4 separate regions of the Homo sapiens genome follow, and all the other regions are linked to region 1. The links are contacts of gene promoters, found by promoter capture Hi-C in blood cells and fetal thymus (Javierre and others, 2016). All regions are on one chromosome and are shown on one strand. Each heading gives the region's core, a stretch centred on a gene start or on the middle of the fragment in contact. The rest is flanking DNA. Distances are from core to core; before and after follow the strand shown.

What was found. The method cuts DNA at HindIII sites, captures the fragments that hold promoters and counts their contacts. A CHiCAGO score of 5 or more calls a contact.
Region 2: a contact is called between a fragment that was not itself captured here and the fragment with the promoter of FXYD3 in region 1, in 2 of 17 cell types (naive B cells and total B cells). The highest score is 6.6, in naive B cells.
Region 3: a contact is called between a fragment that was not itself captured here and the fragment with the promoter of FXYD3 in region 1, in 2 of 17 cell types (total B cells and total CD8 T cells). The highest score is 6.9, in total B cells.
Region 4: a fragment that was not itself captured here is called in contact with the fragment with the promoter of FXYD3 in region 1 in 1 of 17 cell types (total B cells); the score reaches 5.3 in total B cells.

What each region holds. Positions count from the first base shown.
Region 1 is chr19:35,114,202-35,117,552 of GRCh38, forward strand. FXYD3 (FXYD domain containing ion transport regulator 3) reads left to right here and starts at 1,622. Exons shown (of 9, transcript NM_005971.4): 1 at 1,622-1,758; 2 at 2,063-2,158. The HindIII fragment of the contact is 1,620 bases long and covers 630-2,249 here.
Region 2 is chr19:35,225,392-35,228,742 of GRCh38, forward strand. FAM187B (family with sequence similarity 187 member B) reads right to left here and starts at 3,348. Exons shown (of 2, transcript NM_152481.2): 1 at 2,568-3,348. The coding sequence starts at 3,289. The HindIII fragment of the contact is 1,036 bases long and covers 1,291-2,326 here.
Region 3 is chr19:35,207,806-35,211,156 of GRCh38, forward strand. All of the region lies in intron 2 of LOC105372379 (a long non-coding RNA gene), which reads left to right. Among named protein-coding and RNA genes, the nearest start is that of FAM187B, 19 kb to the right of the region's middle. The HindIII fragment of the contact is 5,425 bases long and covers 1-3,351 here.
Region 4 is chr19:35,188,318-35,191,668 of GRCh38, forward strand. No RefSeq gene overlaps it. Among named protein-coding and RNA genes, the nearest start is that of FXYD5, 35 kb to the left of the region's middle. The HindIII fragment of the contact is 1,556 bases long and covers 836-2,391 here.

The sequences.
Region 1 (3,351 bases), core at 372-2,871:
AAGATCATGGTGTTTAAAACTACAGAACATTCAGAGGTTGTCAGAAGTCTCTAATTGCTGGTCCCCCAGGTTGAAACCAGCCCTTAGGTTGAAATTTTGACCTGCAAATTTTTTTTTAAATCTGAACCAAATTTTTTAAATTAAACCCCTTTAAGGTAGTACATTTTCAAGATGCAAAATTCAAAAAATATAAGAGGGCACGTGATAATGAGTGAGTCTCACTTCCACCCCACCCTCCAGCCTCCCAGTTTCCCTCTCCAGAAGCCATGGGTATGGATGCCAATCTCCAAAAATATTTTATTCATTACAAGTATATACATATGCATTATTTTACCGCTCACAAATGGTAGCACACTGCACGGTTTCCCAATACCTTGTTTTTTTTCCCCTTAGCAAGCTGTCTGGGAAATACTTCTGTATCTAACCACGGGCAGGGGTGTTCCTCCAAGATTTTTAGACAACAGTTCTCCAGTTCACCCCGTTCCGGTGAAGGGCAGAGCACCCCCCGCCCTTCCCAGCCACCCTGTACACGCCCCTACTCGCTCTCGGATGCCTGCAGTTCCCAGGCTTCCCAGCAGAGGGAGACACCATTCCACTCCCAAGACCACCAAGGGGTCGTCCCAGACACAAGCTTCAAGGGTCTAGGGAAGAGACGCTATCCGCCCAGACACAAAGACCCCCCTTAGCTATACTGAGTTGGCCTCCGGGCCTCCCCTTCCTGTTTCTATCTCCTCCTGGACCTGTTGCTTAGAGCCCTACCCCGAGGTCCCCCCGCCCGGCTTCCTTATGGGAACTGGCCCCGCCTTAAGAGTGGTAGGAGGGAGCCTTACCCTTGTCTAGGACCTGGGCTTGACAACTTGCCCCAGGGAACCACATAGAGAAGGGGTGTAGCGCTGGGCGAACATTGCCCTCCCCGATCCCTCAGCGATGACAAGTGGGGGGTCCTTCTCTCTGCCCCCAGCAGGCCAGTTTCCGGAAGAGCCTTGACCCAAACCCCCTTTTCCTGTCCTGTGCTCCACACTCCCAGCAGCTGCTTCTCCCTGGCCAGGCCCTGCAGCCCTCCTCCCCGCCCCCACGGTGGTGTTGGGGTCGCCTGGAGTCCAGCTGGTGTCCAGGGCAGAGCTACCCCTTTCCTGGCCCTACCCCTCCCCGTGACCCCAATCCTCCGCCAACCGCTCAAAGGATCCTTGTTCTCCATCCAGCCCCCAGACAAAAGTCCCTCTGTCTAAGAAGGCGGAATTGAGGGGAGGGGGCACCCCCAACTGGGACCATGGGGGAGCCTGCACAGACCCCATCCGGAAGGAATGCCTGGAGGAGGAGGAGCAGGAGACAGGGGAGGAAAGGGGGAGGGAGGCTTGTACAGTGCTGGGGGCCTTATGTGGACTAGGAGGCAGCCGCCCCCACCAGCACCCACTCTGTAGACCCAGGCGTCTGGCTCCCAGCACCCACGGAAAGAGCCTGGCTAGGAAACTGCAGCCTGGTGCCTGGCAGACAGTTCTCATTCTCCCCAGGGCAGGGAGCAGGTTATGACCAGGACTAAGGTCCCAGAGTCCCCACCCTGACCCCTCCCTGCTGTTCCAGCCGCTCCCTCATATCCACCCCTGCCCCATCTCCTGACTTTGGTCACGCTAGCATCTTCTGCTGATCCTGAAATTGTACCAGCGGCAAGATGTGGCCTGGAAGGGGACTTTAAGTTCTCCACAACTGCCAGCAATCCTTCCACCAGGCAAAACACATCATCTAAGGAAAAGAAGTGAGGTCGGAACACCAACGCATCATCTCACTGCATGGCCCTGGAGGCTCTGCCGTTTAAAGACCCCAGAACCTTCCCCATTCAAGGTCCTCTCCTGGGCACAGGAGATTGGAGAAAGCTCCTCCCTTAATTCCAGGGGCCGAGTTCCAGCCCATCCAATTCTCCGTCTCACCTGAGGCTGCTGTGGTCCTGGTGACCCCAGGGAGCAACCTGCCGCCCATGGCTGGGGAGGGGGTGAAGCTGTCTCTTTAAGAGCAGGAATGGAGCCCCTGGGCCTCAGGGCATCTGACTTGTTTTCTACCTGCCCAGGTTTGCTTAGGGCGTGGCAGCTTCGGATAAACGCAGGACTCCGCCTGGCAGCCCGATTTCTCCCGGAACCTCTGCTCAGCCTGGTGAACCACACAGGTGAGCAGCTGGGGCCCCTTCCTCCAAGCCCTCCTTGTCTCTGCCCCTAAATTAGGAAGTATCTACCTGCCCCCTGACCCTGCCCCATAGAAGCTTTTATGTTAAAGCGCCTAAAATCTTGTGAAATGCTTTTCTGGAGCCAGGAGATAAACGGAAGTCCCTTCCCCTAATGTCCCTTTCCCCACCATTCTCCTCTCAGGGACTTGTTGAACCAGCTGAGGTGAGGGCAGGACTGATAAGTGTGGTTGGGGTGTCTGAAAGACTAGTGTCTGCATGGATTAGGGATATCTGGGTTGGGGATAGCTGGGTGGAGGAGAGGGGGTGCCTGGGTAGGTAGGGGTATCTAAGTGGACCAGGGGTGCGTAGATGGACTGGGGACATCTGGGTGGATGAGGAATGCTGGGTGGACTCGGGGTGTCCAGACATTGAGGGATCTGGGTGGATAAGGAGTGCTGGGTGGACTCGGGGTGTCCAGACATTGAGGGATCTGGATTCTGGAGACCTCCAGGAAAAAAGGATGGAGCTGCTGGGGGAAGCTTTAAATGGGGAGTTGCTTGGGAGATTTCAGGAGCACACAGCGGGCAGGATCTTTCTACCCACCCCTGAACATGAGACCATTCTCCCATGGTATGGAGGAATAGAGGGGATAGCAGAGGGCAGGTGGGGGAAACAGTCCTCAGGCCGGCCTTGGGACCTCATGGCCAGGAAGGATGAGAGCAGGTAGACAGAGCATCAGCTGCAGGGCTGCCTTCCTCTCTAACCTGCTCACCAACCACATCAGTTCGGGAGCAGCCCACAGCCTCTTCAGACAACAGCCTGAATGGGGAACGTGAGGGCAGACCCAGCTCCCGGCTCCCTGCAGCCTCCGGAAGCATGGGACTGGACGTTGTTTTGCAGAGGCTGGGGCGAGGAGGATACCATCTGTCAGTCTTGGCTGGATGACATCATGGGAAGGGGGTATAGTGGGGCCTTGCAGGCCAGAGGTGGCTTGGAGGAGCCCCTGGAAAGAGGCTTAAGAGGTGAGACTCAACAGCCATGGCGACAGAGCATAGGGCTTTAAGATGAATTTGCAGGGGTTACAGGATTACAACTGCAATGTGGGCTAATAATAGTGCCCCCTGCATTAAGCTGCAGAGATTGAGCGAGTAAGTGGGAAGCTGAGAAAATGCCCCCATGGGGTAGACACTCAATAA
Region 2 (3,351 bases), core at 559-3,058, 110 kb after region 1:
TTACTGGCCCCACCCCTTACTGGCTCCCCTCTTCCTGGCTCCACCCCTTACTGGCCCCACCCCTTACTGGCTGGGTGACCTGGGCAAATGCCTCCAGCTCTTTGAACTTCCATTTCTTTATGTAAAACTAAGAGTCTAGACCAGGCTTGGTGGCTCACACCTGTAATCCCAACACTTTCAGAGGCAAAGGCAAGGAGGATGGCTTGAGCCCAGGAGTTCAGAACCAGCCTGGACAACAAAGCAAGAACCCATGTCTGCAAAAATTTAAAAAATTAGCTGGACATGCTGACATGCGCCTGTGGTCCTGGCTGCTCAGGAGGCTGAGGTGGGAGGATTACTTGAGCCCAGGAGGTTGAGGCTGCAGTGAGCCAGTCACAGCACTGCACTCCAGCCTGGGTGACAGAGCAAGACCCTGTCCCAAAAAAGAAAACAACAAACCAAAAAAAATGGAGAGTAATGATTGTACCTCATAAGGTTATTTGGAGGAGTTAGCAAGGGCACTCCTTAAATGATTTGTCCACCTGCCTTTGCCTGTCTGGTCTCATCTCCTTCACTCTCCCCTTTACTCACTCTGCCTAGCCACGCTGCTCTCCTAGATGTTCCTCTGACATGCTGGGTGCAGTCTTGGCCCTGGCTGTTCCCTCTGTCCCCAGGGCTTCCTCGCCTCCTTTCAGTCTGGGCTGAAATGGCAGCTTCTCAGAGGAGCCTTCCCTGACCCCACCACTTGACACTTTTAACCTCCCCTATTCCCAGCATCCCTTCCTGCTCCGTCACCATCCAAAATACTATAGGTCGGGCACAGTGGCTCAGGTTTGTAATCCCAGCACTTTGGGAGGCCGATGTGGGAGGATCACTTGAGCCCAGGAGTTTGGGCTCAGCCTGGGCAACAAAGTGAGACCTCATCTCTACAAAACTTAAAAACTTAGCCGGGTGTGGTAGTGCATGTCTGTAGTCCCAGCTACTGTGGAGGCTGAGATGGGAGAATCACCTGAGCCCGGGGAATTGAGGCTGCAGTGAGCTGTGATTGTGCCACTGTACTCCAGCCAGGGTGAAAGAGCAAGACCCTGTCTCTAATAATAATAACAATAATAATAATAAAACTATATATTTATGCGCCACAAGGGCAAGAATCTCCGTTGGTTGTGTTCTTCACTGTTTCCCAGGTCCCTAGAATGGAGCTTGGCATATAAATATGCAGTGAACACGTGTTTAGTGGAGAAATGAATCAGGCACCGACACACCCAGCGTGGTGGAAGAACAGAGAGGATATTCCACAGACAATATCATAAAAGCTTGCATTCCCAGCTAGGTACATTGTGGAACTTCTTATTGGATGCTATGGCAGGCACTCTACAGTCTTTAGTCCCCTTAACACATCACAATGACCCTGTGTGGCCAGGGGCTGGCAAGACCTCTGCACTGAGTTAGACAGTGGCCCCCGCAAAATGCATGTCCTTCCCAGAACCTCAGAATGTAACATTATTTGGAAATTGGATCATTGCAGATATAATCAGTTGAGATGAGAGCATATTGGAATAAGGTGGGCCCTCAATCCCATCTGACCGGTGTCCTTTTAAGAAAAGGAAAAGAGAGACAGGGACACAGACACCCAGGAAGAATGCCAAGTGATGATGGAGGCGGGCATTGGAGAGAAGCAGCCACAAGCCAGAGAAGACCGGGATCTCTGACTGCATCCAGAAGCTAGAAAAAAGGAGGATTCTGCCCAGCTCACTCAGAGGGACTGAGAGGGAGCGTGGTTCTACTGACACCTTGATTTCAGACTTACGGCCTCCAGAAGGGTGAGACAATGGATTTCTGGGGTTTTTTTGTTTTTTTGTTTTTTGAGTCAGAGTTGTCTCGTGATGTTGCCCAGGCTGGAGTGCAGTGGTGTGATCTCGGCTCACTGCAACCTCCGCCTCCCGGGTTCAAGTGATTCTCCTGCGTCAGCCTCCTGAGTAGCTGGGATTACAGGCACGTGCCACCATACCTGGCTAATTTTTGTATTTCTAGTAGAGACGGGGTTTCACCATGTTGGCCAGGCTGGTCTCGAACTCCTGACCTCAGGTGATCCACCCACCTCGGCCTCCCAAAGTGCTGGGATTACAGGCATGAGCCACCGCGCCCAGCCTGCATTTCTTATTAAGGGGCAGGTGGACTGGGGGAGAGGAGGGGAAGGGGCTATTTTCCAGAGGCTCCTGGCAGGAAGTAAGAAGATGAGTGTGAGTTCTGGGAGGCAGGCCTTGATGGGAAGCCCCGGGGGCACCAGCCTCTCCTCCAAGGTCTCACTGACCTTTCCAGATGAAGCAGGGGCCTGTTGGAGCCCCTAAGCTTCCTGGGCTTCCCCCATCACAGCCCCATCTGTCTGCCTGGGCTTCTCCCATCCCGGCTCGCACCACCCTGGGCTGTGTCCCCCTCGGACTGTTTAAGAGCAGGGCCTGGCACTGTCCTGATGACCACTACGTGGCTGAACTGCAAAGAACGCCCACTCATCCCTCTGCACATATTACCAGGAAGGATCCCCTGACCGGAAGAATCTGGGTAGGGGCCAGAGGCAGGGATTCCATCACCTGTACATGGATCCTAAGGGACAGTCGAGCCACACAAATTCTGTCTTCTCATCGAGCCTGAAGTTGTCAAAAATGACGTAATCCACCCTTAACTGTGTGTTATTGGTGCACTGGACGTGGCAGGCTTCCACCTGCAGCTCAGGCCGCAAGCGGCTAGACCACACCAGCACCTCTCCCAGATAGAGCCAGCAGGGCATGGCTTCCTCCAGAGGCTCCTCAATGTAGCGGTACCCCAGGCGTTTACACTCGCCCGGCTCCTCACAGCGGTTGCAGTCCTGCCAGGGCTCCCACCAGGTAAAAATGAGCTGTTTGCTGCCCAAATGCAGGGTCTCGTTCTGCAGGGGCCTCTGACCCAGGTCCTTGTGTGTTATATGCAGGGTGGTGACATCCTGAAAGTCAATTTCATACTGCACCACTTGGCGGCCATTCTTGTTCCAGCAGTGGTAGAGGCCCGTCTGGGAGGGCAATGGATCTTTAATGAGAAGGCTGCCCTCGGGCATTATTTCCATATTGGAAATATTGGTGAGGCTGGTGAGCCTGCCCTTCTTGCCTTGTGTGAATAAATAGTACCAGTGCGCCCCCGAGGAGTTGCAATACAGGAGAATATCATTGCCTGAGAGTAGGGCCTGTTGGCACTGCTTACCACTGGGGCAGCTGATGGAAAAGTAGAACCCCAGTGCCGGGGCAGCAAAGTGGAGCAGCAGCCACAGCATGGGTGGCATGGTGGACTGGGGCTGTGGCAGTGGGCTGGTGCCACCCCGAACATTGTGAGGTCACCCATGAA
Region 3 (3,351 bases), core at 237-2,736, 93 kb after region 1:
AGTCTAGAGCAGAGTTCTAACAGCATCACGTGTTTTTGCTTTCTCTTTCATCCACGTTGAAGAAGAGGGGGTAGTAAAAATATTCCTCTGGTTTAACAAAAAATTCACAAATATTTATCCTTTTCAGAATCTACATGCAATTTAAGTATTAGTCCCAGAATCACAGATGCTGGAATGTTAAAGTTTCTTTGACAAGACATACTGATGATCTCTGAAGTCCCTGCGGCCTGCAAAGAATATTTGCAAACAGAGTTTTATGATGCTGAGGATGATTCTGAAGCCACAGAGAAAGACATCATTTTTCTTCTTTTCTTTCTGCAATTTCTTTCATTAGCACTTCGGAGCACCTATAGTCGCCATGAGTTGAAATCTCATGAGTTAGTAGTAAGAGCAGAATCAGAGAGGCTAAACACTGAAAATACAGAAAGGAAATGGGTAGAGTAGGATTTTAGCAAGAGGAAGTATACGGTTGTGATGCTTTGCACCTATAGGAAATGATGGCTGGGGCTGTGGCAGCCACGTTACCACCGTGAGGGATGACATTGCCCACATGCTGAGGAGCCTGAGTCTATAAGAACATCATTCAACTGATGCATTGACCCCTGGAGAACCTCCCCGCCTTTGGGGGACCAGCAGTTCTGTAAAATAATACGTGTCCTTATTGCTTTTTTTTTTTGAGATGGAGTCTGGCTCTGTCCCCCAGGCGGGAGTGCAGTGGCGCGATCTCGGCTCACTGCAAGATCCACCTCCTGAGTTCACGCCATTCTCCTGCCTCAGCCTCCCGAGTAGCTGGGACTACAGGCGACCGCCACCATGCCTAGTTATTTTTTTGGATTTTTAGTAGAGACGGGGTTTCACCGTGTTAGCCAGGATGATCTCAATCTCCTGAGTTCACGCCATTCTCCTGCCTCAGCCTCCCGAGTAGCTGGGACTACAGGCGACCGCCACCATGCCTAGTTATTTTTTTGGATTTTTAGTAGAGACGGGGTTTCACCGTGTTAGCCAGGATGATCTCAATCTCCTGACCTCGCGATCTGCCTGCCTCGGCCTCCCAAAGTGCTGGGATTACAGGCACGAGCCACTGTGCCTGGCATCCTTATTGTTTTAAGATGTTTGGAATTTATTCTTCTCTTACTTGCAGCCAACAGCATCCTACATGAGGCAGCCAGGGTAAGTGGTCCACATACAATGGGTGAACAAGTGCTTATCCAGGAATTGAAAGAGCCTGGCTCATTCAGTGCTAGGACCAGAGCCCTCAGTGGACATTGTCCCACCTTTCAGCACTGAGGATGCCTCCTCCCCTCCAAGCCAGTCATTGCTGTATGTGATCATGTTAATTAGGTATCCATATTCCACAGGAGGGAGCAACGAGGTTTTCTTTTTTTTTTTTAAGATGGAGTCTTGCTCTGTTGCCCAGGCTGGAGTAAAGTGGTGCCATCTCAGCTCACTACAACCTCCTGGTTCCAGCAATTCTCCTGCCTCAGCCTCCCAGGTAGTTAAGATTACAGGTGCCCACTACCACATTGGGCTAAGTTTTGTATTTTTAGTAGAGATGGGGTTTCACTATGTTGGCCAGGCTGGTCTCAAACTCCTGACCTCAAGCTATCCGCCCACCTTGGCCTCCCAAAGTGCTGGGATTACAGGCATGAGCCACCACGCCTGGCCGCAATGAGGTATTTTTTTGTTTTTTTGTTTTTGTTTTTGTTTTTTTTCAATTCTAGCCGCCAATCACAAAATTTAACTAAGGTCCCTCCCAGCACACACCTGTCATCCATCCTGAAAATTTAAAGTAAAGGTATAAAAATATCAAAACCATGATTGCCTTTGGGGATGGAGTGGAGGTGGGGATTATCTGGGAAGGGGCATAAGGGGATTTTGCAGGGGTCACGGAGATGTTCTTTATCTTAACAGGGGCTTGTAGTCTAAAGCAGAAGCGTATACTTATTACATAAGTGCATTCATTGGTCAAAACTCAGCAAATGGAGATGGGAACAGTGGCTCATGCCTGTAATCTCAGCTACTGAGGAGGCTGATGCATGGGGATCACTTGAGGCCAGGAGGTCAAGACCAGTCTGTGCAACACAGAAAGACCTTATCTCTTTTAAAAAAAAAATTGTTTTAATTCCCCAGGCATAGAACTCACCCTGTGGAGAAAAAAAAAAAAAATTAGCCAGGCGTGGTGGCATATTTCTGTAGTACCAGTTACTTTCAAGGCTGAGGCAGAAGGATCGCTTGAGCCCAGGAGGTCAAGGCTGCAGTAAACTATGATCACACCACTGCACTCCAGTCTGGGGTACAGAGTGGGAGCGCATCTCTAAATAATAATGACAATACTAAGAAATTCAGCAAATGGATGTTTCATATGTGTGCATTTCATTGCATGCAAATTTATAAAATCTCAAAGATAACTGCAAACATTGAACTCCAGTTGGTGATATGAATCCTGAAATGTTTAAGGGTAAAGAGTACTGATGTCTGCTTTAAAATTCTTTAACCTTCTTTAAAAATACATTTTTAAAAAATCAGATGACTTGATAGAGGAATGGACTGATAGATATGTAATAAAGTAAATACAGAAAAATGTTAACAATTGTAGAATCTAGATGATGGGGCCAGGTGCGGTGGCTCACGCCTGTAATCCCAGCACTTTGGGAAGCTGAGGCAGGTGGATCGATCACCTGAGGTCAGGAGTTTGAGACCAGCCTGGCCAACATGGTGAAACACCATCTCTACCAAAAATACAAAAATTAGCCAGGCGTGACAGCGCATGCTTGTAATCCCAGCTACTCAGGAGAATCACTTGAACCCGGGAGGCAGAGGTTGCAGTGATCTGAGATCATATCACTGCACTCCAGCCCGGGTGACAGAGTGAGACTCCGTGTCAAAAAATAAAATAAAATAAAATAAAATAAAATAAAAGTGATGATGATCATAGTTATGAACAACAGTGAGAGTTCACACACTGCCTGTACTGTGGGCAAAGCCCGTTCTCAGTGCTTCGTGTGAATGAATTTGTTCACTCCTCACTACAACCTTCTGAGATAGATACTGTTATTCTCATTCACAGATGTGGACCCTGAGACCAGGGAGGTTGCGTGGCATCATTACATCAGAAGGGGAGTGGTCTGAATCCACTCCTCCCCTTCCAGGGCAGGAAGTCAACAGAGAAGGGCTCTGTGGTAACGTTGACAATCACAAATCAGTGGCATAAACATCTCCTTAAGACATGCAGAGGCAGCTGGGCGTGGTGGCCCACGCCTGTAATCCCACCATGTGGGAGGCCAACGTGGGAGGATCACTTGAGGTTAGGAGTTTGAGACCAGCCTGGGCCACATAGTGAGACCCTGTCTC
Region 4 (3,351 bases), core at 364-2,863, 74 kb after region 1:
AAAAAAAGAATTTACGGCCAGCACGATGGCTCATGCCTGTAATCCCAGCACTTTGGGAGGCTGAGGAGGGTGGATCACTAGGTCAGGAGTTCAAGACCAGCCTGGCCTCAAGACCAGCCTGGCCAACATAGTGAAACCCTGTCTCTACTAAAAATACAAAAAAATTAGCCAAGAGTGGTGGCGGGCGCCTGTAGTCCCAGCTATTTGGGAGGCTGAGGCAGGAGAATCGCTTGAACCCAGGAGGTGGAGATTGCAGATCGCCACCATGCCTGGCTAATTTTTGTATTTTTAGTAGAGACAGGGTTTCGCCATGTTGGCCAGGCTGGTCTCGAACTCCTGACCTCAGGTGATCCTCTCACCTGAACCTCCCAAAGTTCTATGATTACAGGCATGAGCCACTGTGCCCAGCCGCATGATTTTGATTTTAATTTTAAAATCAAAATTTTATACAGATTTGTTTTGTTGCCTAGTGCAGGTTCTATCCTACAGAATATTCTCCGTGCAGTCGAGAAGATTGTGTATTCTGCTTTTGTTGGGAGAAGTGTGCTATAGTTGTCTGTTATATCTGGTTGATTAATACTGTTCAGATCTTCCATTTTCTTGTTGATTTTATGCCTAGTTGTTCTATCCATTATTGGAAGTGAGGTACTGAAGTCTCCAACTATTATTGTGGATTTGTTCATTTCTCTATTCATTTTTATTAGTTTTTGCTTTATGTATTTTGGTGCTTTATTATTAGATGTATATGTGTTTATATTGTTATATATTCTGATGGACTGACCGCCTTATCATTATACAATGCTTCTCTTTATCTGTAATAACTTTTTTGTTACAAAGCTTATTTTTTCTGACGTTAGTATTGCCACTCCAGCTTTCTTGTAGTCACTGCATGATATATTGATATATTGTCTTTCATCATTTTACTTTACATTTTTGAATCTTACATGTTTTTCCTATAGATAGCTTTTGGCTGTATCTTGGTTTTTAAAAAAAATCTAGTCTGAAATATTTGACTTTTAATTGAATTGTTCATTTCATCAACATTTAATGTTATTATTTATACAATTGGATTTACATCTGCCATATTAGCTTGTGTTTCCTACAAAATTTCTTTATTAGTGCCAGGGGTTTTTTGTTTTATTTATTGATTGATTTTATATTTATTGAGATTTTCTACATAAACAATCATTTCAACTGGGGATGGGAACAGTTTTATTTTTTCCTTCCCAATCTATATGCCTCTTACTTCCATTTCTTGACTTATTACACTGGCTAAGACTTTCAATATGATGTTGAATAGAAATGGTGAACATGCTTGTCTTGTTCCCAATCTTAAGAAAGAAAGCATTCATTTTTCACTGTTTGGTATGATATTAGCTGTAGGCTTTTTGATGCTCTTTATCAGGTTGATGAAGTTCTCTTCTATTCCTAGTTTGCTAGGATTATTTTTTGCAAAACAAAACAAAACATGTATGAGTGTTTTATTTTGTCAATACTTTGTCTGCACCTATTGATATAATCATGATTTTTCTTCTTTAGATGGTTAATATGGTAATAGTGATTGATTTTAAAAAATTGGACCATTGTTGCATTCTTAGTATAAATCCCATTTGGTCATAGTTTATTGTATTTATTCATTTATTATTATTATTATTTTGAGACAGAGTTTCACTCTTGTTGCCCAGGCTGGAGTGCAATGGCAGGATCTCGGCTCACCCCAACCTCTGCCTCCTGGGTTCAAGTGATTCTCCTGCCTCATCCTCCTAAGTAGCTGGGATTACAGGCTGTGCACCACCATGCCTGGCTAATTTTGTATTTTTAGTAGAGATGAGTTTTCTCCATGTTGGTCAGTCTGGTCTTGAACTCCTGATCTCAGGTGATCCGCCCACCTCAGACTCCCAAAGTGCTGGGATTACAGGTGTGAGCCACCGCGCCCGGCCGGTCATAGTTTACTACTCATTTTACATATTGCCGAGTTCAATTTGCTAACATTTTATTGAGTATTTTTGCATCTATATTCATGAGGAGTATTTTAGTTGTGTTTATTATTATTTTTTGTACTGTCTATCTGGTTTGTCATCAGGGTAATGCTGGCTTCATAACATGAGTTGGAGAGTATTTCTCCTTTTGTATTTTCTGGAAGAAATTATGAAGAATTAGTGCTATTTCTTCTTTAAATTACTTATTTAAAACCATTGAAACCACCTGGGCCAGGAGATTTTTTAAAATGGCATTAACTATACATGCAATTTATTTAATAGTTACTAGACTATTCATATTATCTATTTCAACAGTGGTGAATGTAGTAGCTGGTAGTTTTTGAGAAATTGGTCCATTTCATCTAAATTTTGATATTTATGTGTATAGAGTTATTACTGATATTCCTTTATAAGCTTTTTAATAATTATAGGGTCTGTGGTGATAGCTGTCCTCTTTCTACCCTAATATTGATAATCCCTCCCTTCTCTCTCTTCTCTCTTTATCTCTACCTCTATCTCTTTCTCTCCCTTCTTCTCTCCTCAGTCTTGTTAGAGGTTTATCAATTTTACTGATCTTTTCAAAGAAACAGCTTTTGGTTTTACTGATTTCTTCTATTGCTTTTTTGTTTTCATTGATTTTTGCACTTATTTTTTCCTTGCTCTTCATTTGGGTTTATTTTGCTCTTCATTTTCTAATTTCCTATGGTGAAAACTTAGATTATTGACTTGAGATCTTTCTTCTTTTCTAATATAATCAACATTTAAGACTATACATTTTTATATAAGCACTTCTTTAACAGAATTCCACAAATTTTGATAGGTTTCTTACTTTCTTTCAGCTACAAATATTTCCTAATTCCCTTTGGAATGTCCTATTTTTCAAATGATTAAAGATTGTCCTGTTATCTTCCTGTTATTGATTTCTAGTTTAATGCTGGCCAGGTATGGTGGCTCATGCCTGTTATCTCAGCACTTTGGGATGCCAGAGCAGGAGGATCACTTGAGGCAAGGAGTTCAAGACCAACCTGGGCAACATAGCAAGACCTCATCTCTACAAAAAATTTCACGTGAGCCCAGAAGTTTGAGGTTTCAGTGAGCTATGATTGTGCTATTGCACTCCAGCCTGGGTGACAGAGTGAGACTATGTCTCAAAAAAAAAAAAGTTCTAAACGGTCAAAGAACATACTTCATATGATTTCAAATTTTTTCAACTTTTTAACTTCTGTTTCATGACTCACAATTCCATTTGTCACGGTGAGTGTTCCATGTGCATGTAAAAAGGCTGCTTATTCTGCTATTTTGGGGGGAGATGTTCCATAAATATTGATTAAAGCCATTTGGTTGATGGGTAAGTTCTATGTCTGTGATGTAT